Linked DNA regions of Homo sapiens: region 1 is linked to region 2. Evidence: promoter capture Hi-C in 16 types of primary human blood cells and fetal thymus (Javierre and others, 2016). All regions are on one chromosome and are shown on one strand. The core of a region is centred on a gene start or on the middle of the fragment in contact, and the rest is flanking DNA. Distances in the headings are between cores, read along the strand shown. Region 1 holds the start of DAGLA (diacylglycerol lipase alpha). Region 2 has its middle 24 kb from the start of SCGB1D1.

What was found. The method cuts DNA at HindIII sites, captures the fragments that hold promoters and counts their contacts. A CHiCAGO score of 5 or more calls a contact.
Region 1: a contact is called between the fragment with the promoter of DAGLA here and a fragment that was not itself captured in region 2, in 1 of 17 cell types (neutrophils). The highest score is 5.9, in neutrophils.

The regions. Positions count from the first base shown.
Region 1 is chr11:61,677,262-61,682,451 of GRCh38, reverse strand. DAGLA (diacylglycerol lipase alpha) reads right to left here and starts at 2,061. Exons shown (of 20, transcript NM_006133.3): 1 at 1,948-2,061. The HindIII fragment of the contact is 3,213 bases long and covers 1,156-4,368 here.
Region 2 is chr11:62,164,212-62,169,169 of GRCh38, reverse strand. No RefSeq gene overlaps it. Among named protein-coding and RNA genes, the nearest start is that of SCGB1D1, 24 kb to the left of the region's middle. The HindIII fragment of the contact is 3,257 bases long and covers 1,541-4,797 here.

The DNA.
Region 1 (5,190 bases), core at 812-3,311, 490 kb after region 2:
TCAACAGATCCCACTTGCCCCCACCGGGAGCATGTGCGCTCAGGGCCTCTAATTCCCTATGACAGGCCCTCAACCTTCCGGCTCCCTTCCTCCCAATCACATCCCGTGCCACCATTTCCTATGGCTCCTGCCTCCAGCCCTGGTCTCTTTACTTGATGAGACTCTCTGACCTTTGTACAGTCTTTCGCTGTTTGCAAAGTGTTTCCACGTGCACCATTTCCTTTCATTCTTTACTACCAGACCACCATGTGACATGCCTTGATTGGTGAAGTCACCTGCTGAAGGTCACACAGCCAACACTGGAATTAAAGTGATATGGCTCCAAAGGCATCGGACAGTGCTCCGGTTATAGGGAACTCATCAGCATCTCCAAGCACCCACCTTGGCAATTTGGCGACCACCTGCCACCCTACCCTCAACATCATCTTTTTGGACTCATAAGTGCCTTCCCCAGCACAAGCTCAACCCTGTGATTCTTCTACCACTGATCCCACTCCCCCAAGAGATCCACAAAGAACTGAAGATTTCCCCTACACTGTAAGACTTCTCTAGGAGGAGCTGCAAATTGCTTCTCTGTAAAGTAAGGCACTAGGTGATGCTGAGTGAGACCTTCACCCAAAGCTTCCCAAAGGACTGGTGAGAGCAAACACAATCTCAGCGCAGATGGAGGGGTTTTAACATAGGAGCTAAGCAGAGAGGACAGACAGAGCCCTTGGAAAGGAATTTAAGCCTGGGGGTGGGAGTCCCGGTGGCCCCAGCAGATTCCCAGTGGCTGCAGAATCATCTTTCAAGCATACCCCAATCGATCCAATCCTCTGGACCCAAAGGCTCCCCAGCATCAAAGAAGAGAGGCAACTCCCAGATACCCTGGAGTGAACCCATCAACCCAGGGAGAAGGCAGGACCCCGTGACTACAGATAGATGGTGCGCCATACCACTCCCTCACTCGCTGACCCGGGTTACCTCTTGGTCCTGCTTGCTTCTCAGGACATATTCTGGGACACCGATCACCACTGAAAATCATCCACCCCTCCCTTCATTCCCAAAGCTAGATGAAAAGCTAGATGAATGGTTCTCTCTACCTTAGCCCAGGACAACGGTAGTGCCTGGAAGGTCTCTATCTGGGTTACCATCAGGGCCCTTGTGGTAGAAGCTTCTCCTGGCATCTCTTGTTTATGCCCATTATAAAGGACACCAACCTTCTCCCAGCCTTCTGCCCTCCTCAGTCCAGTGTACCCAACAGGCATTAAAACTGGACCCCCATGACAGAGGCAGTGTCCCCTTCATCGCCCGTGAGGAAGGATGGGCATTTACCCTTCCCATTCATCAGGATGGGAGGGCCACGGACTCCCCCCGCGGCAGTGCCGGGTAGCCCCCCGCACCACACCGTGCCAAGGCCCTTTCTCACAGTCATGCCAGGAACTCTAGCCATGCTGAGAACACCAATTCTTCAAGCCCCCAGTGCTATCACCCCAGATCATGTCAAGCCCAAGGCCAGAACCATCCCAACACCCAAGCAATGGCAGCACTTCCTCACACCCATGCTAGCGGCACCACCATGCCGGCACGAGCTGGCCACCTATCCCATAACCAGTCCGAAGGCCGTGCCCATCACCTACCTGTGCAGACAGCTGCACCACCTCACACCTGCGTGGCCACCACCGCACCAAGGTGGAGGCGAGTCTTCTGAGACCCGTTCCAGGAAAACCACGCCGCCTGTGCCGGACCCACGTTGCCCACGCCCGTGCCACGCGTGTCACCATCCCCACGCTGGTGCCAGGGGCTCCACAGACCTCACACCTGCCACGGGCGCGCGTGGCAGCTGCAACTCCGCCCGCCGACCCGTCGGGCCGGCCACCGCGCGCCCTGGACACTGCCCAGCCCGCCGCGCCGCTCGCACCGCGCCCGCGCCCAGGACCGGCCCGCCGCGCCGGAGGCCCCCCTTACCTCCCGCCCGCCGCAGGGCTCGGCCCGCCGCCGCGACCGCCACCTCCATCCTGGGCTCCCCAAGGCCCCGATTCACTAACGCCGCTTCCGCAGGGCGCCGGCGCCGGCGCGAAGGCCGCCTCCGCCCCCCGGGGGACGCTGCGTCCTTTACGTAAACCCCTCTCCGCCGCCAGCGGTGACCATGGCGACGGTCGTGGGGAGGCAGCGCCCCCTGGCGCCAGGGAGGGGAGCGGCGTCGAGGCCAGGGAGAGCCGAGTCTTCCGCGGGCGCCGGCCCTGCGCGTGGGGGCGGTGGGCGCCTGGCTCAGGCTCGGCTGGGGTCCCGTGGGCGGCCGGGAGGGGCTGGACTGGCCGCGATGCGTGCGGGGAAGGGAGCCGCCTGGGTGCCTGCCCCTCCTTTAGGTCCCTCGTGACCAGTTTTAGCGTGGGAGAGGGAAAAAAGGAAGTAGGATCACTGGAGAACTGGTTCATTTGTGGGGAGGAGAGAGACGGGTCCCACCTCCTCGGGGTGACTGAACTCTGCTTGAGAAGTCAGAGCATGGCTAGAGTTCCTGGCGTGACTGTGAGAAAGGGCCTTGGCACGGTGTGGTGCAGGGGTCTACCCGGCACTGCCGTGGGGGGAGTCCGTGGCCCTCCCATCCTGATGAATGGGAAGGGTAAATGCCCATCCTTCCCCACGGGCGACAGAGCCCGTGGGTACCCTGGGTACCCCCTCCTCCCTACCACCCCCCCACCCCCCACCCCTACCCCCGTTCCCAGTGCCCAGCATCGTGCCTGGTCTCCAAAGGGGTTTACTTGGTCAATTTTGAATTTCTGGTAAATGAAGAAAACCGCCCCTCCTGTTCCCCTTCACGCCCTTTCATTCACCGTAAGTCGCTTACACCTCCCTGGGAGCACTGTGCTGAACTGGGGGAGTGGAGCACAGAGAGGAGCAGAAGGCGGGCCCTGACTTCAAGGAGCTCATTCTGCTGGGGAGGAGACGCAGATGGAGGGGGTTTTAACACAGAAGCTAAGCCGAGAGGACAGACAGAGCCCTTGGAAAGGAATTTAAGCCTGGGGATGGGAGTCCAGTCTGCAGGTCGGGATGACTCAGCTGGGTCCCAAAGATCCAGTAAAGATTCATCAGAGACAAAAAGGGGAAGAACGTTTTCTTTCAGGCAAGAGAAGTGCCTCTAAAATGTTTCCTAGGCCCTGTTGCCACCCCCAAAATCACAGTGATCGCGCAGTTCAGTAGAAGTGGGAGCCATAGGTGAACAAGGAGGTGTGGGTAGTGGGGTGCCCGGCTTGAGCAGAAGCCTCGGTCTGAAAATTACGTGGACATTTGGGTTGGAAATGAGACTGTGAGGCCAGGACTGCCTTTTATTGAAGCAGATGGAGCCACTTCTGGAAGGAGTTCTGTGTTACCTGTGATTATTTAGAAAGCAAACTCACGTAGGTAACAAGGAAAATGAGGAGTGGGCGCATATACCCAGTGGGGCACCTCAGGGGATTCAAGGAGGAGTTGAATTCCTCAAGGCTCAGGAAGGGCAGAGATCAGGGGAGGCTTTAAGGGACAACTGTAGCAGTATCAGTTTAGGGATCTTCTTTCTAGATCATTGCCATTAATCAGAATCAAAACTGCCAGATTGGATGTCTCTTGGTTCAAAGTTCCCGATTCCCAGAAAAAAAGAATCTTATTAGTCCAGATCAGGCCACGGTCAATCAGCTATGGCCAGGGCAGAAAGTGCTTTGTGATACAAACATGTCAGTCCACTTTTCCCCGTTGAGAGACACTCCCAGAGGAGGAGAATCATGACCTGAACAGCCAGTCCAAAGACTGTCGGCCAGGGGCGGTGGCTCATGCCTGTAATCCCAGCACTTTGGGAGGCAGAGGCAGGTGGATCACCTGAGGTCAGGAGTTCGAGACCAGTCTGGCCAACATGGTGAAACCCTATCTCTACCAAAGTACAAAAATTAGCCTGGCATGATGGCAGGTGCCTGTAATCCCAGCTACTCGGGAGGCTGAGGCGGAAGAATCACTTGAACGTGGGAGGCAGAGGTTGCAGTGAGCCGAGATCGTGCCATTGCACTCTAGCCTGGGCAAGAGAGCCAGACTCCATCTCAAAAAAAAAAAAAAAAAAAGGCTGTCTACTACGGATCCATCCCTTAGCTGTCCCATGTACACAAACTCACATGTGTCCATGTGCACACATGTGTCCCGACACACGCCAGTCCTTCTTCCCATTCCTCCAAAGTTGTCTTCACCAGACAAGTACCAACAGTCACCTTCACACTTGATGTCATGAGGCTACTATTATTTCAAGATCTTCAAGGTGATTGATCCCATCTGGTCATTTAACTGAATTAAAGGGTTACTTTTACCATCACCAAATCCTTTGAACTCTTGCTACTCAGAGTGAGACATTGGCACCACCCAGAAGCTTAACGGGAATGCATAATCTCAGGCCCAAGAATCTCAGGTTGGCAACAAGATTCCCAGGTGATTTGAATGCACATGAAAGGCTGAGAAACACCACTATTATAAATGTTAGGTGACCGGGTGCGGTGGCTCACACCTGTAATCCCAGCACTTTGGGAGGCTGAGGCGGGTGGATCACCTGAGGTCAGGAGTTCAAGACCAGCCTGACCAACATGGTGAAACCCCATCTCTACTAAAAATACAAAAATCAGCTGGGCATGGTGATGGGCACCTGTAATCCCAGCTATTCGGGAGGCTGAGGCAGGAGAGTTGCTTGAACCCGGGAGGTGGAGGTTGCAGTGAGCCGAGATCCCGCTACTGCACTCCAGCCTGGGCAACAGAGTGAGACTCCGTCTCAAAAAAAAAAAAAAAAAAATAGGCCCAGCGTGGTGGCTCACGCCTGTAATCCCAGCACTTTGGGAGGCCGAGGCAAGCAGATCACAAGGTCAGGAGTTCAAGGCCAGCCTGACCAACATGGTGAAACCCCGTCTCTACTAAAAATATAAAAATTAGCTGGGTATGGTGGCGCGCGCCTATAATCCAAGCTACTCAGGAGGCTGAGGCAGGAGAAGCGCTTGAACCTGGAATGCGGAGGTTGCAGTGAGCCGAGATCACGCCACTACACTCCAGCGACAGAGCAAGACTCCCTCTCAAAAAAATACATACACACATAAATGTTAGGTGAAAGGAAAAGGAAAGATAACAAAAACATTTTCAAATTGTGATTCATATTTTCTTAAAGGGGGAAATGGTCAACTATTTAATCTTCAACAACTCTAGTAACAA
Region 2 (4,958 bases), core at 1,920-4,419:
GCAATCCCTATCAAAATCCCAAAAATGGTTTTTCCAGAAATAGAAAAAACAATTATAAAATCCATATGGAATATCAAGGAACCCCAAATAGTGAAAGCAATCTTGAAAAGACGGAACAAAGCTGGAGAACTTGCTACAAAGTGACAGTAATCAAAACAATGTGGTACTGGCATAAAGACAGCCATGTAGACCAATGGAATAAAATAGAAAGGCCAGAAATAGAGTAAAAATAGAGTTACCACATGATCCAGCAATTCCCCTTCAGGGTATACACAAAATAATTGAAAGCAGAGTCTCAAAAAAAGATTTGTACATCCATGTTCACAGCAGCATTATTCACAATAAAACACAGAAGCAACCCAAGTGTCCATCAACAGACACATGAATAATCAAAATATAGTACATACATACAAGGGAATATTATCTAGCCTTAAAAAGGAAGGAAAACTACATGCTACAACATGAATAAATCTTGAAGACATGTTAAGTGCAATAAGTCAGTTACATAAAAAAAGACAAATAACGTATGATTCCACTTATATGTATGTAAAATAGTCAAAATCATAGAAACAGAGAGTAGAATGGTGATTGCCAGGGGACGGGGGAGGGAGGAATAGGAAATTATTGTTTAATGGGTATAACTTTTCAGTTTTGCAAGATGAAAAGCACTCTGGAGATAGATGGCAGTAATGGTTGCACAAAATTACAAAATGTATTTAATACCACTGATATATACATTTTAAAATTATTTAAAAAAACGATTAAGATGGTAATTTTCATGTTTTGTGTATTTTACTGCAATAAAAGAATTGAACAAAGTAATGGCAATATTTTTTTCATGTGACAGCTTTTCACTTAGAGGGCAGGGCTTTTCCAAACAAATTAAAGTTATTAGGCAAGCCTGTGTGTCTTGGAGACTTTATTATTTTGTTTGTTTTAATAAATACAGACAGGGTCTTGTTATGTCACTCAGGCTGGTCTCAAACTGTGCCCGCCATTCTTTAGAAATTTTGGGAAATACAGGGTTGGGTGCAATGGCTCATGCCTGTAATCCCAGCACTTTGGGAAGCTGAGGCAGGGGGATCACTTGAGCCCAGGGGTTGGAGACCAGCCTCAGTGACATAGTGAGACCTCATCTCTACAAAAAATCAAAAAAATGAGGCAGGAAGATTGCTTGAGCCTGGGAGGTTGAGGCCACAACGAGCCGTGATCATGCCCCTGCATTCCCGCCTGGGCAACTGAAGTGAAACCCTGTCTCTAAATAAATAAATAAAATAAATTTGGGGAAATAAAGAAAAGCCCATAGAAGTCACCCATATACAACCAGTGTTAACTTGCTGGGCTCATGGGGTCAAGTCTTTTCCCATCCATCCAGACACAGATACCTGGATATCAGCATCTTGCTGCACAGGTGGGCTCATGCTCTGTGTGCATTGTTCCCTGGACAAGGCACAATGGCCATTCCCCCATCATGATAAATGTGCCTAACTCTTTTCTTCCCACCTCCATGTGCAAAAAGGTAGTTGAGTCAAGCAAAGCTTCTTTGAGGGCTCCAGAGCTGACTTCCCAGCTGCTACTGGTCCTTTTGGGTCCTCTCCCAGTGTTGAGACTCCTGATTTCAAGGACCCTGATTTCAAGGGTGCTGATTTTGAGGGTCTGAAGAAGTTCAAAGAGGAGGTGGATATCCAGCCAGCTAAGCAGAAAACAGCAACAGTCAACGGTAGTGAGCCCCTCTCTGCCCTTCTCTCTAACAGTGACATCCTGAGTCAGGGCTCAGTCCTGGGCAGAACGAGAGTCCTGGGCAGTTCCCAAGAGGAACTGGCCTGGAGGCCCAAAGGGCGGGATATCCACTTCACTGTGCCTTATCAATGTGCAGCTCAGGTATGAGAATCTGGTCATTAGGGCCTGACCAGTAAAGTTCCCAATATCCAAAGTTACAGAGCCCCGAAAGTCCCCCAGCTGCCTAGAGGTGCTTAGCAAAAAGTAAAAATAATACAACTCTGTGTTTGACCCTCACGTACTCTACAGCTCCTTTGGCCACTCCCTTTCTCTGCCAAACCCCAGGACCCTGTGTACCCCTGCTGTTCTCCCTGTCCCACCAGATCTCCCCTGGCCTCACAGGAACCTGACAAAAGGGAAGTGAGACAGGACAGATATGAAGAAAATGTGAAGTGATGGTTATTTTACACCTAGGCATCAAGAGACACAGTCGTTTGCTCAGCAGGTGGGATTTCTCCACATAGGCGGCAAGGAGAAACAATGCCGGGGTCCAGCATCAGAGACAAAGCTGGCAGAATTCACCTGCCCAGACCCCTCCTGCCTCCTGTTTCCCATTGGCCAAAGTTCACCCCATGAACTTCAATTCCCTGCACTTCTGGGACATGTCATCTGTACAGCTCCATCAGTGATACCAGATCCCACGTCCTGCGGCCAGGGACCAGAAACCCCGGGTGGGAAATAGCAGTCTGGGAGAGGGCCCTACTTTGCCAGGGCAAGGACTGGGAAGTCCCCACTGGCATCAGAAAAGTCTGGGTGCTTTTGGCCAACAAGAGGCAATGGAGGGAAGCCTCTTAACATTTCTGATGTCTTGACATGCGTCGTAGCAGGCTTGCCTTAGAGCAACACCTTCGAAGTCCAGTGGAGCTTCCTGCCCGACTGCACACTCCACACAACCTTGGGCTTGAGGTTGCTTTAACTCTTTGAGTGTCACTTTCCAGAGACTTAAAATGAAGATGAAGATAATATCACCCCTCAATCAGCAAATGCGATTGAAGGTTATGGCCAACGCAACTCAACTCGCCCAGTGCCTCACACACAGTAGGCACTTTGCGATTAAAGGTTGTCATCCATATTCCCAGACTATTCCCCGGGAAGTGGTTAGACAGAGCTGGACAACAAACCCCATCTCCTTGGCCCTGACACAGGGAGTGGCAAAAGGAGCTGTAGAGTCCACATCAGGGCCAAACACAGATTTTTATTATTTTTATTTTTTGCTAAGTGACTCCAGGCAGGTGGCGGACAATTAGGGGAGGTCCCTGTTGTAATTCCCAGCCCTGCCCTCCTACCCGAGGAATGAGAGAGGATTCCCTGCATTGCAGTCTGCATGTTGACCTCATGTAGACTAACACGCCTTAGTCTACTGGAGGGAGACAGAGAACACCCTGCATTCTCTGCCCGAGTCACTCTCCTCAATCTGCTTCAGTAGAACGTGAGACACAACTGTTGAAGGCCAGCAGCCCCTGGTCCCGAGCGCGGCAGTGCCACAGTGGATGCTCTCCCACCTGAGCCCTCGGACTGGGCCTCAGTGGGTCCTGCTCCCACAAGTGTCACTGTCTCAATCCGGAGAGTGGAGCTCGTAGGAACAGGACCTCATTGCCACATTTTCTTGGCCCCTTTCATTAAAAACACTGCAATCACCTTCATGGTAAGGCTCCTCCCTGTGGAGGTCTCCTACAGAAGTAGGTGAGGACTGGTTGCTGGGATTGAAGAGAGTGGCATGGTAGCTGAGGATAATAAGGGGTACTGGGGTAAGACGGAGAGGTTTGGGGGCCACACAAGTTGTCCATCTAGGGAACGTAGAGGTCACCTAGATCAAGCCAGTGTTGCCCAAGTAGCAAAAAAAAAGAAAAAAGAAAAAAAAAGTCTGGTCTTTTTTAGCCCCGAGAGGTGTCTTTGATGAAATTCTGACCAGATGAAGCCACCATCACTGCCCTGGGCTTACACATTACCTACATACCCTAAATCAATCACTGTCTGTTTTCTGTCTTTCTCTAAGCCATAGAGCCTGCTCTCTATCTGTTAAGTCTAGGGCCATCACAAACATGCAAACAATGACACTGTAAGATAACTTGGGCCAGGTGCAGTCACTCAAGCCTGTAATCCCAGCACTTTGGGAGGCGGAGGGTAGGTAGATCACCTGAGGTCAGGAGTTCGAGACCAGCCTGGCCGACAAACATGGAGAAACCCCATCTCTACTGAAAACACAAAAATTAGCCAGGCATGGTGGCGGATGCCTGTAAGCCCAGCTACTCGGGAGGCTGAGGCAGGAGAATAGCTTGAACTCAGGAGGCAGAGGTTGCAGTGAGCCGAGATCATGCCACTGCACTCCAGCCTGGGTGACAGAGCGAGACTCCTTCTCAAAAAACAAACAAACAAACTAACAAAACAAAACAAAACAAAACAAAACAAAAAACACCACATAAGATAACTGGGGCAGAAGGCCTCTAGCCCCTAGCCCCTAGCCCCTTTCCCTACCATTCCCGCAGTAGTGGCTGCACCCCTCCAGTCCTTTCTGCTGCACCCCCAGCACCTCTGGGGCACTTTCTGAGTTAAATAATTAGTTATAGGAGTCCTCACTGGGCATAATCCATACTTGTCTTATTACAGTGTCCCAGGGGCAAGTAGGACAGGAGCCCTGCAGAGGGCTCCTGCCTCTGTTATTCTCAAATCACAACTCAAAGACACTAAACACATTCCTCAAGATCCCTTACTCCAATTCTCAAGGACCAATTCCCCACTCAACCAATCCTGCCAGGCCAGGGGCAGAGCTGGCAGGAAGAATAGAGATCCAAAAAAAAAAAAAACCGTCATAGCTTTCATGGGTTATTAGCTCCTGTTCTTTTATAGGAGCTCCTATTAGCTCCTATTCTTTTATAGGTAGAATAGTTCACCTGAAATTAATCTGATACTATCAACTTTCCTATATCATAATAGCAGAGGAATGGGCATATTTAAAGTGCAAATTAATACAGGTAGGGGTATGTGTGTGTGTATCTGTGGGCAAGTAAGATTAAAGCTTCATGGATCAGGCAACCAAACCTGAGTCAAAGTATCCATCTTCATGTCAGCTGTTTCAGGCTTAATAAACTGCAATAAAAGCAAATACCCCCACAAAGGAATGACTACTTAAAAGGCACTTTAAAAGCCCCCCTGGCCGGGTGTGGTGGCTCACACCTGTA